Linked DNA regions of Homo sapiens: regions 1, 2 and 3 are each linked to region 4. The links are contacts of gene promoters, found by promoter capture Hi-C in human tissues and cell types (Jung and others, 2019). All regions are on one chromosome and are shown on one strand. Each heading gives the region's core, a stretch centred on a gene start or on the middle of the fragment in contact. The rest is flanking DNA. Distances are from core to core; before and after follow the strand shown.

What was found. The method cuts DNA at HindIII sites, captures the fragments that hold promoters and counts their contacts. A contact is called where the count stands out against the background at its distance.
Region 1: a fragment that was not itself captured here is called in contact with the fragment with the promoter of HRK in region 4 in 2 of the 25 tissues and cell types used here (dorsolateral prefrontal cortex and hippocampus).
Region 2: a contact is called between the fragment with the promoter of MED13L here and the fragment with the promoter of HRK in region 4, in 1 of the 25 tissues and cell types used here (mesendoderm cells).
Region 3: a fragment that was not itself captured here is called in contact with the fragment with the promoter of HRK in region 4 in 2 of the 25 tissues and cell types used here (mesenchymal stem cells and mesendoderm cells).

The regions. Positions count from the first base shown.
Region 1 is chr12:116,116,959-116,119,658 of GRCh38, forward strand. The region is part of intron 2 of MED13L (mediator complex subunit 13L); the gene reads right to left. Among named protein-coding and RNA genes, the nearest start is that of MIR620, 30 kb to the right of the region's middle. The HindIII fragment of the contact is 3,682 bases long and covers 1-2,700 here.
Region 2 is chr12:116,276,261-116,278,968 of GRCh38, forward strand. It overlaps MED13L (mediator complex subunit 13L), which reads right to left and starts at 1,433. Exons shown (of 31, transcript NM_015335.5): 1 at 800-1,433. The coding sequence starts at 871. RefSeq lists silencers at 1,262-1,731, 1,782-1,841. The HindIII fragment of the contact is 5,179 bases long and covers 1-2,708 here.
Region 3 is chr12:115,986,056-115,988,755 of GRCh38, forward strand. MED13L (mediator complex subunit 13L) reads right to left here. Exons shown (of 31, transcript NM_015335.5): 18 at 1,054-1,233; 19 at 211-434. Among named protein-coding and RNA genes, the nearest start is that of LINC02463, 100 kb to the left of the region's middle. The HindIII fragment of the contact is 3,301 bases long and covers 1-2,700 here.
Region 4 is chr12:116,880,075-116,882,880 of GRCh38, forward strand. HRK (harakiri, BCL2 interacting protein) reads right to left here and starts at 1,367. Exons shown (of 2, transcript NM_003806.4): 1 at 902-1,367. The coding sequence starts at 1,233. The coding sequence ends at 958. RefSeq lists silencers at 1-96, 975-1,054 and an enhancer at 1,560-2,521. The HindIII fragment of the contact is 18,466 bases long and covers 1-2,806 here.

The sequences.
Region 1 (2,700 bases), core at 121-2,620, 760 kb before region 4:
CTCTTTTTCTCCTACTGTACTCTCACAACACAAAACAAACTACAGCAAATGTATATAGTAGTTGTATTTGTAAATGCCAAAAACTGGAAACCATCCAAATGTCTCTCAACAGTGGGAAAAACAATGAAATATCTATACAATGGGCTACTACTCAGAAATAAAAAGGAACTTCCAATACAAGAAAAAATATGGATGAATCTCATTATGCTAAGTAAAAAGAAGCCATACTCAGACTATGTGCTGTATGATTCATTCATATGTCATTCTCGCAAAAGGCAAATTTAAGGTACTGTAAACTTCTCAATGGTTTCCAGGGATGGAGGTGGTGAGACAGGTTGATACCAAAGGGACACCGGAAATTTGAGGGGTGATGCCCCCCACTCTATATCTTGATTATAGTGGCAGTTACATACCTGCATACATTTGTGCAAACGCGCAGAAATATTATTTACTAAATAATGTATTATTTACTAAATATGGTAAACTTTACTCACAATCTTTTACTGTTCTAAATTACGAAAACTCATTTTACCATTGGGCCAAGTTTCTAGACTTAAGCCATCATGAATATGCTAATATTGACCTCTTTATTTTCTTAGTATTGTAATCAAAAGGACTCCTACTCTAAATTTATATATAAAAAGCATTCTCTAAATCCAAAAGATATGGTATTTATGTGATTAACCTCCATTCATAAAGTATTAAAAACAAAAAAAAAAAGTTTGAGTAATTAACAAGGAAATTCAGACTGAAGTAACTGTTCCTAGAGCCCAATGTACCAGTTATATTCTTCACTTCATATCAAACACTGTATATAATGCAAATGTAACAAAATATAAACATCTTAAGGCATTTTTTTAATTTTTTGAGACAGGGTCTCGCTCTTTCACCCAGGCTAGAGTGCAGTTACATGATCACAGCTCACTGCAGCCTCGACCTCCCAGCCTCAAGCAATCCTCCTACCTAAGTCTCCCCACTTTCTGGGAGTTACAGGCATAGGCCACCATGCCCAGTTACTTTTTAATTTTTTTGTAGAGATGGGGTCTTACCATGTTGCCCAGGCTGCTCTTGAATCCCTGAGCTCAAGTGATCCTTCTGCCTCAGACTCCCAAAGTGCTGGGATTACAGGTGTCAGCCACTGCACGCAGTCAAAATTTTTATTTTTTAAATGCTAAAAATTATTTTGAAAAATAATTATATGGTCATTCTCATCTGTTCTTTTATATTCTGTAAGTATATAACATAAATTAACATAAAGTTTGGGCACTAAGTTAATATAAAATAGGAAAGTAGTAATACAAAATAAAACAAATCATACTATATTAAGCCCTTGTCTAAGGAAAGTGTACTAAAGCTTAGAAAACAATAGAAAATTATAAATTATAAGTTAACAAACAAAATTTAAATATAAATCAGTAGATAATTTAAAAAGCATTCAGTGTTTGGATTTAAATTTCCTATGTCTTAGATATTGCATTGAAAATTACATACTAAAGATTCAAGAATAATCAATTTATCATAAAAAATTATAAGCCAATAACCACTCTAATAAATACTATCAATTTAGGCTATGAAATTAAGGATAATGCATTAATTTGCTGACCCTTTCAATTTACTATCACTAACAAATGCATTTGTCAAACAGAATGTAAATCAGACCATCCTTTTTTTCTCATGATCAGAGTTTCCAGAAATACAGGAGCAGCATATGTTTCAATAAATCCCTAAAATTTCAAAATAAGTTAAATCTGCAAAGACATGCTTGGAATCTAATAACAGATAATTTGATCAACATTAACTAGACAACACTACTTGACCGTGTTATGTGTCAAGCACCAGGCTAAGAACTAGGAATGCTCTCAAAAAGCTAACACATGTATGTGCAAACCACTCGGAAGCAAAAATTATTTTGAAACTTTGCAGAATAGCTACTAGCATAAAATGTCTTAAATTTTAAATTAACAATTAAATAACATATAATCAAGGTTGGTTTTCTATCCAGAAAACAATCATTCTTGTTTTATTTTATGTGCCAAGCTTTGAATTAGGCACTACATATAAATGGGGAGGTGGGGAGACTACTCACCACCACACTATGAGACATCTGGCACACTTCTGTCACTCAGTGTCGGGCTTCTTCATTATCACTATCATTAAGAGTCCTAATTGGGATCAAATATAATCACCCCTAACGGAAACTAAAAATACTGATTCTCTCTTTTCCATCCTCCCCTACAGTGTGGACAAGGACATACATTCTAACCCCTACCAGATGCTCCTGGTCGACACCTTTGACTCTGAATCCAGGGACAAAAAGAAAGCCGATGGAGATATCTTTCTGACAGCTCTAGGAACAGAGGCTTCAAGATCAAGTTTTTGGTGCTAAAGTAGCAGAGGTACCACAGCATCTAGTGCTTGGTGGTAGCTAGCAGTACCTTTCTCATTGAACCAGTTCTGTAGCGCCGATTGTAAAAGTGCCAAATAGTTGGATACCCAATATTCTTTTAATCAACTCCTTTTCTTAGTTTGAAGCTAAGAACTCTGATGAATACAGTTGATTCTAATCTCCATTTTATACATGAGAAAACTAACACTTAATCTTAAGAAGGCACAGTGCCTTACACCTGTAATCCTATCACTTTGGAAGATCAAGTGGTAGGATTGCAAGGCTCCAGCTCTTAAAAAAACTTTAAAAACTTA
Region 2 (2,708 bases), core at 183-2,682, 600 kb before region 4:
CGAAGGCAGATAAAAGCGATGTTATCAAACCGACCAGCTTGTTGCTTTTGTGTGTGTGTGTGTGTGTGTGTGTGTGTGTGTGTGTGTGTGTGCGGATTCGTTGTTAGGATAGAGAAAAACAGTTTTTAAAAGACACAGGAGGAGAGAAAGAAGAAAAAGCTTTCTCCACCTTCCGTCGGCTCGGTGCAATGGCTTTACGGCTCTCCAGCATAGTAAGCCCCGAGAGGCAGGCGGCTGTCGATGTTTACAATCGCGGGAGCTTCGGGTGCAAGAGTCCTTTCCTGACACAATCGCATTCAATCAACTATTTTAGGGCGAAATTGCAGGTGTCATTATGGAATTTAAAAAAATTCAAAAGGCAGGCGGGCGGGCAGGCAGCTGATCCAACAACGGGGGAAGAGGTTGCCGATCGGAGGCGCGGCAGCACAAGGCAAAGCCTTCCACATTTACGGGGGGAAAAAAAGGGGGGAAAGGGGAGGAGAAGGGGAGTGCGATTGCAACAGAGGGTGGGCGTTCGAAGTGCGACCCAGAATCCGCAGCTCCGAGACTTCCACATGCAAATTCCACGCCGAGCGCCGCGCTCACAAATGATTTTTAAAGAGCCAAATAAACACTGGATGGGATCCAAGGCGAGAGAGAGACGATCCAAAAGGGGGAGAATCGGCGAGAGGCGAACGGCGGGGAGACGCGAGGGAGGGGCGAAGTCCCGGCGGCGGGAGGAGAAAGTTGGTCGGCGGCGGAGGTCGGGGACCCCCCCCCTTCCCCGGCACAGCCCCCTCCCCGCAGCCCGGCTACTCACCAGCGAAAAGAGGTTGGAGTGACAATCCTCCAGGCTCGCCCCGTTCGCCACCCAGTTCGCTGCCGCAGTCATGATCCTCCGCGAGCCCGGCCGCCAGAGCGGGGCATGTCGGAGCGAGGCGTCCGAGGCGAGGCCGGGCCGGGCGGCGGCGCCTCGCCGGGGAGCGCGGGGCGGCCGGGCCGCCGCCGCCGCCGGGGGAGGGCGCGAGGGCCGGCGGGCAGGCGGGAGGCGCCGCGGCGACGCCGCGCCGGGGGCAGCGGGCCCGGGCTGGCGGGGGGGGCGCGCGCCCCGGGCCGGCGCTGCGGGCCGGCCACCGCCTCCGCCTTCCCTGCTCCTCAGCCGCCGCCGCCGCCGCTGCTGCCGCTGCCGCCGCCTTGTTTATCTCCAGCCACCGACTCCCCCTCGGCCCCCGCCGGCGCGCGAGGGGAGGCGAGCCCCGGAGCCGCCGCCGCCGCCTCGGAGCCGCCGCCGCCGCGGAGCGCGAACTCGCGAAGGGGGGGGTGCGGACGAAGCCAGCGGGCGACCCCGGCAGCCGAGCGACGTCCCCTCCTTCCTCTTCCTCCCCCACCCCCCCCTCCTCCCCAGTCAGCCTCGCTTCTCCTCCCTCCCCGGGCTCGCTTGCTCTGACAGCAATGGCGGCCGCCGACCGCGGCTCGGCCCGCCATTGGCTGGCGCTTGGTCACGTGACGGGCGCCGGCCGCGCGGGGGGAGCGAGGGGCGGGCGGGGGAGGGGTCCGGAGTGGCGGCGGCGGCGGCGGCTCGCGGGAGGCGCTGCTGAGCTGAGCGCGGCCGGGTCCTCCGGCCGGGAAGAGGGAGGGAGGGAGGCAGAGAGGGAGAGAAAGAAGTGCGGGCGGCCGGGCTCCCCGGCGGGCGGCGGACTGCCGGCCCGTGGCTGCCGTGGGCTGCCCCTCGTGGCCGCCCCGCCCCCTCGCGGTGCACTGATCGTGGCGGGGCGGGACCGTGGGTCCCGGGCGCGCCCGTGGTGGCCGCGGAGGAGGGCGCGGGACCCCCGGCCTGTGCCCTCGCAGCCCAGGCCGGCTGGCGTGGCGCGGCGGCCGCGATGTGGGCCAGGCAGCGGGTCCGAGTGCCCTGGGGAATGTGTCCTCAGAGGCTCGCGCCGCCGTCCGCCTTTTGCAGAGGAGAAAACTAAAGCACAAAGGGATTAAATCACTTGCCCGAGGTCGCACACTTGGGAAGAGGAGTCCAGATTCGAACCCGCGCACAGTGAAGCCAAGCTCTTGGACAAGGTTTCACAGGCTTCGCCCAGGGATATTCACGGCTGCCATAGACGGAGCGCTTACTGTGTTCCAGACACTGTGCGTTTAATACAGAAATGTTTATTGAGCCCTTACTCCTAGTTACTGTGTGCACTCATTCATTCATTCATTCATTCATTACATAAATGTTTCCTGAGCTCCTGCTGTGTGCCAGAATCTGTTATAACTTCCAGGCACTGTGCTAAGGCCGTGTTGGGAGCAGACCCTTCTTCCTGGCGTCATTCATTGGATAACCAACATTTCCTGAGTGTATATGGCCTGGGAGTCCGGAGGAGTGCTGCTATGAAGAGAAGCTCTCCCAGTCCTCAAGAAATGGATCCCCGAAAAGGGGGAGGAGAAAACAATGTCTTCACTAATACGCCTCCAAACATGGAACAATCAGCTGTTTCAGGTAGATTAAGCTAAAAGAGGAAGAGTGGATGGCTGGCACAGTGGCTCACGCCGGTAATCCTAGCCGAGGTTTAAGACCAGCCTGAGCAATGTAGCAAGAACCCCCGTCATGACAAAAAAAATAAAATACAAAAATACAAAAATTAGCCAGGCGTAGTGTGGCATGTGCCTGTAGCCCTAGCTACTCGAAAGGCTGAGGTGGGAGGATAACTTGAGCCCTGGAGGCAGAGGCTGCAGTGAGC
Region 3 (2,700 bases), core at 140-2,639, 890 kb before region 4:
ACGTTTTCTAAATCTAACAAATATAAAGCAAAGATGGGAAAGCAATTTGCTTCCAGAAAAATTGGCCAATTCAATTCTCTTCTTCATCCACCTGTTTGCAAATTTTCTCTGAGATTTACTTTCAAGACATTTGTCTTGAAATTTAGTCATCACTATAAACAATCAGAGGATCCAAGTCATAAAAAGCAATTTTCACAGTAACTTCCTCACCTCGTATACAGCACTCAAGTCCCTGAAGAAAGTTTTGGCTCCTTCGAGCAAGGCCTCATTTTCTGGACACACCACAATATAGGCAACATCACGGTGGCCCCCATATGGGTCCAACAAGAGCCTCTCCCAAAACGGCAAGGAGAATGGCGAGATGGTGAGGAAATCCTTGTCATAGCCTACCAGCAGAGTGGGGATGGGCAACGGCTCAGGAGATTCTTCCGAACCTAAAATGACATTGTAGTGTAGAAAGGTGCTAGAGAGTTTTTCCCACAACCTTACAATTTTGAAATTCCTGGTGCACTGGTCTTAATTCTGGCATCTGAAATGTCACTCCATGTTCACAAGACATTCTTAAAAGTATTTTTGAAATCATCTAATTAAATGGTCACTGATGAGGACTCTTAATTAAGTAAGTCAGAATTTGTTTATAAAGGTTCAGTAAGATCAGAGGGCAGACTAGAACAAGTTAAAATTAACTTTCCAAGCAGCACTACATCATTTCCTTCAAGATAAGCATTATGATTCTGACTATGATGAAGTAGACAGAACTGGCCCAGAAGTCCATCCAGATGAAAATGCAGTGAGGATTGGGAAAATGAGGAGAATCTAAAAAATGCACTTTTTAGGGATTAGCTTCCTCACTGACCTGGATTATGCCAAGGGTGGTAGGAAACTTGACTCCAAAAGTAACTTTAGGAAAACAAAGAGATTATAAAACTAAATGGTCAAAGAAAAAGACTCCCCTATTTTGTTAGTGACGCAAGGACTTGACAGTAACTAACGCTGCTCTTCACTGAACAGCACTGAAGTCAGAAGGAATTTTAAACAGGACAAAGACCCTACCGTAGGTTCCCCGTCCTGCCATTTTATGGAACTGCTGCCAAGTGAGTGGTCCCTGCACATGCTGGATGTTCTCCCAGGTCCTGCCCGTGCGCTTCTTTTGGATGGCATCTTGGAGAAAGGGCTGCAGGGACAACAGCATACGAACCACATCCTGGGAGGAGAGCATGCTGATGTCCAGCACTGGAAGAGAAGTGAGAAGAAACAGAGAAGATAAGGGGGCTAGCACCCTCCTCTTCCTCACCATCACCTCGAGCCTCAGTTATATTCAGAACAATGACGTTATTAGCTGTAGTAGATTCTAAAATATTTGACTTAGGAGTCAGGAGGAAAGATATTCTTCTACTAAATTAGAGAAAATAATTGATAATTTAGTATCAACAATAATAAAAGGGGAAATGGATTACTCTATATAAAAAAGTTTAATGGAAGAATTGTTTAAAAGTGGAAAAATGGATAGGTGCGACTTTTTAAAACCATGGAAATCTGTTTCCAAGGATTTTCATAAGACAGCTGCAAAAGTTTCTTAATTATTACTTTTATTTGCAAATATCAATGTTTTGTTTATATGATAAGTAGGAAAAAATGGAACTTAAATAAAAGCTTTTAAAAACTCTTTAAATGCTCCTAATTGTAAAAATATTTTCACAAAATACAGAATGCATGAAGAGAAGGCCAATCTTCAGTGCAGCCAGAGGCACAGGGAAACACAGCTGAAGCCCTCAAGGACCGAAGTCCGCTGCAGGCACGGATGGGATTCACTGCCTTCTAAATGCAGATGACTTTAGTCCCAGCAGTCGCCCTGGGGAGGGATTTCTAACCTAAAATTTGAAAGTTGTCTGAACTCCATGCAAAACTGTGCAAGCACGCTTGGACATACGTATTTTTTTCTCAGGATGGAGGGTTCATCATGCAAATCAGATTCTTAAAAAGGTCTGCAGAAAGAGCTAATGACGCTGGAGGTGATGTGGTGTGAATCTGCACAGCTGGATTCCTGAAGACTCTGCCTCCCTCTTACCCTTCTAGCTGATGAGGGAAGGGGCATGGAAAGAAATCTAAGATTTATCTGCCAACTAAATTTGAAACACAGGATGATTAAGGATTCTTAAGACATTTTCAAACGTGTCCCTAAATCAGTAAAACACAGGTTGCAAAGTGGTGGTCCACAGAATATTTTGTTAAACTTTGGAACAAATCACTCCAGGAAATTTCACACACAAATCTAGATTGCCAGCTTCCCTTGAACTGGGAGACCCATATTCCTGCATAACCACCACTTGCTGGAGCTGAGGAGCAGCTGTCCCTCTCAGGCACCTCATGGCCCCTTCCCTGCTGTCTGTCCTGAGTCTGATGCAGTTTTCATTGCCTTTTATCTTCAGCCAGTGCTTCTTTTTACATATAGTAAACAACAACAGTGAATACTTCTTGTATTAATGGCTCTATCAAAAGCAGGAAATCACAGACCAAGAGAACCACAGATTTGAGGAAACTAAAAGCAAGCACGTTTCTTATGAACCCTATTCCTGTGCCTGCAAAATAGAAAGTGAGTTTTGAAAAGACAGCTTAAGGCACTGCCTTTTGCAAATGTCTCCCATCACATTCATTTACATTATCTGGTACTTTTAGGCATCTTAAAATTTGAAACCCAGA
Region 4 (2,806 bases), core at 117-2,616:
AGAGCCTAGTACCTTCCTCCCACTGATACCAACCACACTAGGTGCTCAGTACCCACTTCCTGTCCTAAGTTCTCAACACATGACCTCCCTAAACAGTGCCCAGCACCCCGAAGGAGCTCAATAAATGTTCCTTCCTTAAGGCTTCCCATTGGAGTTTCCCTGAAAGCCCCCTATTCCAGCCCACTCCGAGGGCGTCTCCTTCCCGTAGCAGCTACAACCGTCTGGGGAGAAGGAAGCCAAACTCCTTAAACAGGACACCTCACTCGAGAAGGAGCGAAGTTGGCAGGGCAGAGGAAAATTGCAAATGCGCGGAGCTTGGGAAGAAAGATTGGGCCAGCCAGAAACCTGGAGGGGGAGGAAGTCTCGAGATGCGCTTGGGGTGCCAGATAATGGGGATCAGAGATTGGAGAAGTGACACTTAGGGACAAGAGGTTGGGAGCAAAGGTGATGGAGACGGGGGCGACTCAGGAACGGCAAGAGGATTGGAACGGGACCGGGGACCTTTCTTGGAAGTGCGATAGATTTTAAGTATTTGGCGTGGCTTACAACTACATTCCCATAGCAAGCACACTTTTTACTTGCATTGTGTGTTTATTTGTGGGGCTGGTGGGGATTATGGAGGCTGAAGTCCTCCGCAAGCCACTGAGCTATAAGTGAGTAGCAAGATGCGCTTAAGGACTCGCAGAGATGGGGGCAGAAACGGTGGACCTTACACTTGGAAGGGAAGACTGGGGACTGGGTAGAAGAGGAGAGGTGGAGATGCTTGCAAGAGAAGAGAACGGAGGAAGAAGGAGAAGGGAAAAGAAGAAAGCCAAACTTGCCACTCTCCCGCTCCCGGGCCAGCCCAGCGTCTCCAGTGCCCAGCTGCCGCGCCCCGGCTCTCGCTCGCTCGCTCGCGTACCTGTTGCTCGCTCCGGCTGGGTCTCGGCTCCGGCCCCACCAAGAAGCCCCGCGTTCCTACAAGTTCCGCCTGCCGAGCAGCCAGGCCGCCAGCGCCGCCACCTGCGCGGCCGCGCACAGCCAAGGCCAGTAGGTGGGGAGCGCGCCGGGCGCCGGCGCCCTCCGGCTCCGCGCGCGGCGCCGCCACATGGTGCGCTGGTGCAGCTCGTCGCCTAGCGCCTTGAGCCGGGCGGCGGTGAGCTGCGCGGCGGACGAGCGCAGCCCCAGGCGACCCGCGCTGCAGGCGCACACGGCCGGGGGGCCGCGGCCGCGGTGCAGGGGGCACGGGCACATGACCGCTGGCCTCGCTCCCGCCCCGCGCTCGGGCCGCCCCTCGCCTCCTCTCCCTCCGGCCTCTGCGCCCGCTGCCGCCGCGCTCCAGCCGCCGGGGGCCTCCCCTGGACACCAAGTTTCTCCTTGTGTTGTGCGTTTGTTGTGCTGACGGCGCTATTATTAATTAAAGTGTCACATGGTGGAGGGGGGCGGGGAGGGGGGTTACATCATCCGGCCCCCGGGGGTTGGGGGGGGGGCTGCAGGCAGAAGAAACCGAGAGGTAACTTTTAACCCTAGCGGCGCCGGCAGCTAGGGAGCGCGAGGTTTGGGAGACGGGGAGCGCGGCGCGGGGCGGCGCGAGAAGGCTCCCCGCAGCGGAGGTCCTGGGCTTTGGGGGTCTCGGGGGACCCCCGCGGAGGCGCGGAGCGCGAGGGAAGGTTGTTCTCCTTCCCCTTTTCCTGAATTCAGCTCGAGTTCCGATTTGGCGAGGGAAAAAGGCTTGTTTGCCGTTTTGGATGAAGCTGATGCTGAATTCGGCTGCATTATTCAAAAATATTCCGAGGCTGTTGTTTTGTTTGGGGGAGGTGGGTGGATTCAAAATCTTATGGAAGGGTCAGATTACACCCAACTTGCCTCGTTTCAGGTCTGACTTGGCACCTGTAGGCTTTCAGCCTGACCCTAACGTGCCCCCAGCGCCTGGCTAGAAACCTGACCCTAAAGTGCCCCCAGCGCCCGGTGGGAGGCTGGATGGGCCCACCTGAGCTCGCGTGGGGCGCGGACGGAGGCATTCTCGCTGCCCGGCACCCGCACCCAAAAGACCCTCGCAAGGGGCTTTCTAAAGGGAAACTTCTTGTCTGCTTTCTTTGTGAACATTATTTTCCTGATGGCGTTACAGTTTTCTGCGATGACCCCGATTTAATGCGCAGTGGAGACCCTAAGGGGTCGGCGAGAGGAGGGGCGCGGGGGACTTTAATTCCCCCTTTTCCAATCCGACAGCCACTCCTGTGCACCTCCAGACTGGAGCGTCTGCAGTTGTCACAAACGGTGAAGGTTCAGATGGGCTGGGCGGCTGTCAGGATTCTGTGGGGGAGAATGAAACCTGTGATCTTAAATCGACTGGGATTCAGACAACTTTGGGATTCAGACCATCGGGATGAGTCCAGAGATGGCTCCAAGTTGGGAGTCTGGAACCTGCTGAGGGAGCTTCCGTTCTTGCCTTCCCACCGCAGAGTATAACCAAGATTCTTCGAGTCTGTGAACTTAGTTTTGGTCTGAATTGATCAGGAGGAGAAATGTCCCTTTTGGCCCACAGCGTGGTGAAATGACAACAAAGTCAGGGCTCAAAGCCCACAACACTGTGTGATTCTGGTGGCCTTTTCCCTCACCCAGCTCCAATTATTCTAGGCTTCATAATGGCCAAGACCTACTGCGCATCTTCTATGTCTGGCACCTGTGGGCTTTGGGCGCCCTTGCCTCTGCTGCCTAAAGGTAAATCTCCCAACAATTCTACATGCAATTACTATAATATTTCAAAGATGAGGAAGCTGAGGCACAGGTAGGTAAGGGTTCTTGCCCTAGCTCACAGAGTAGCTAA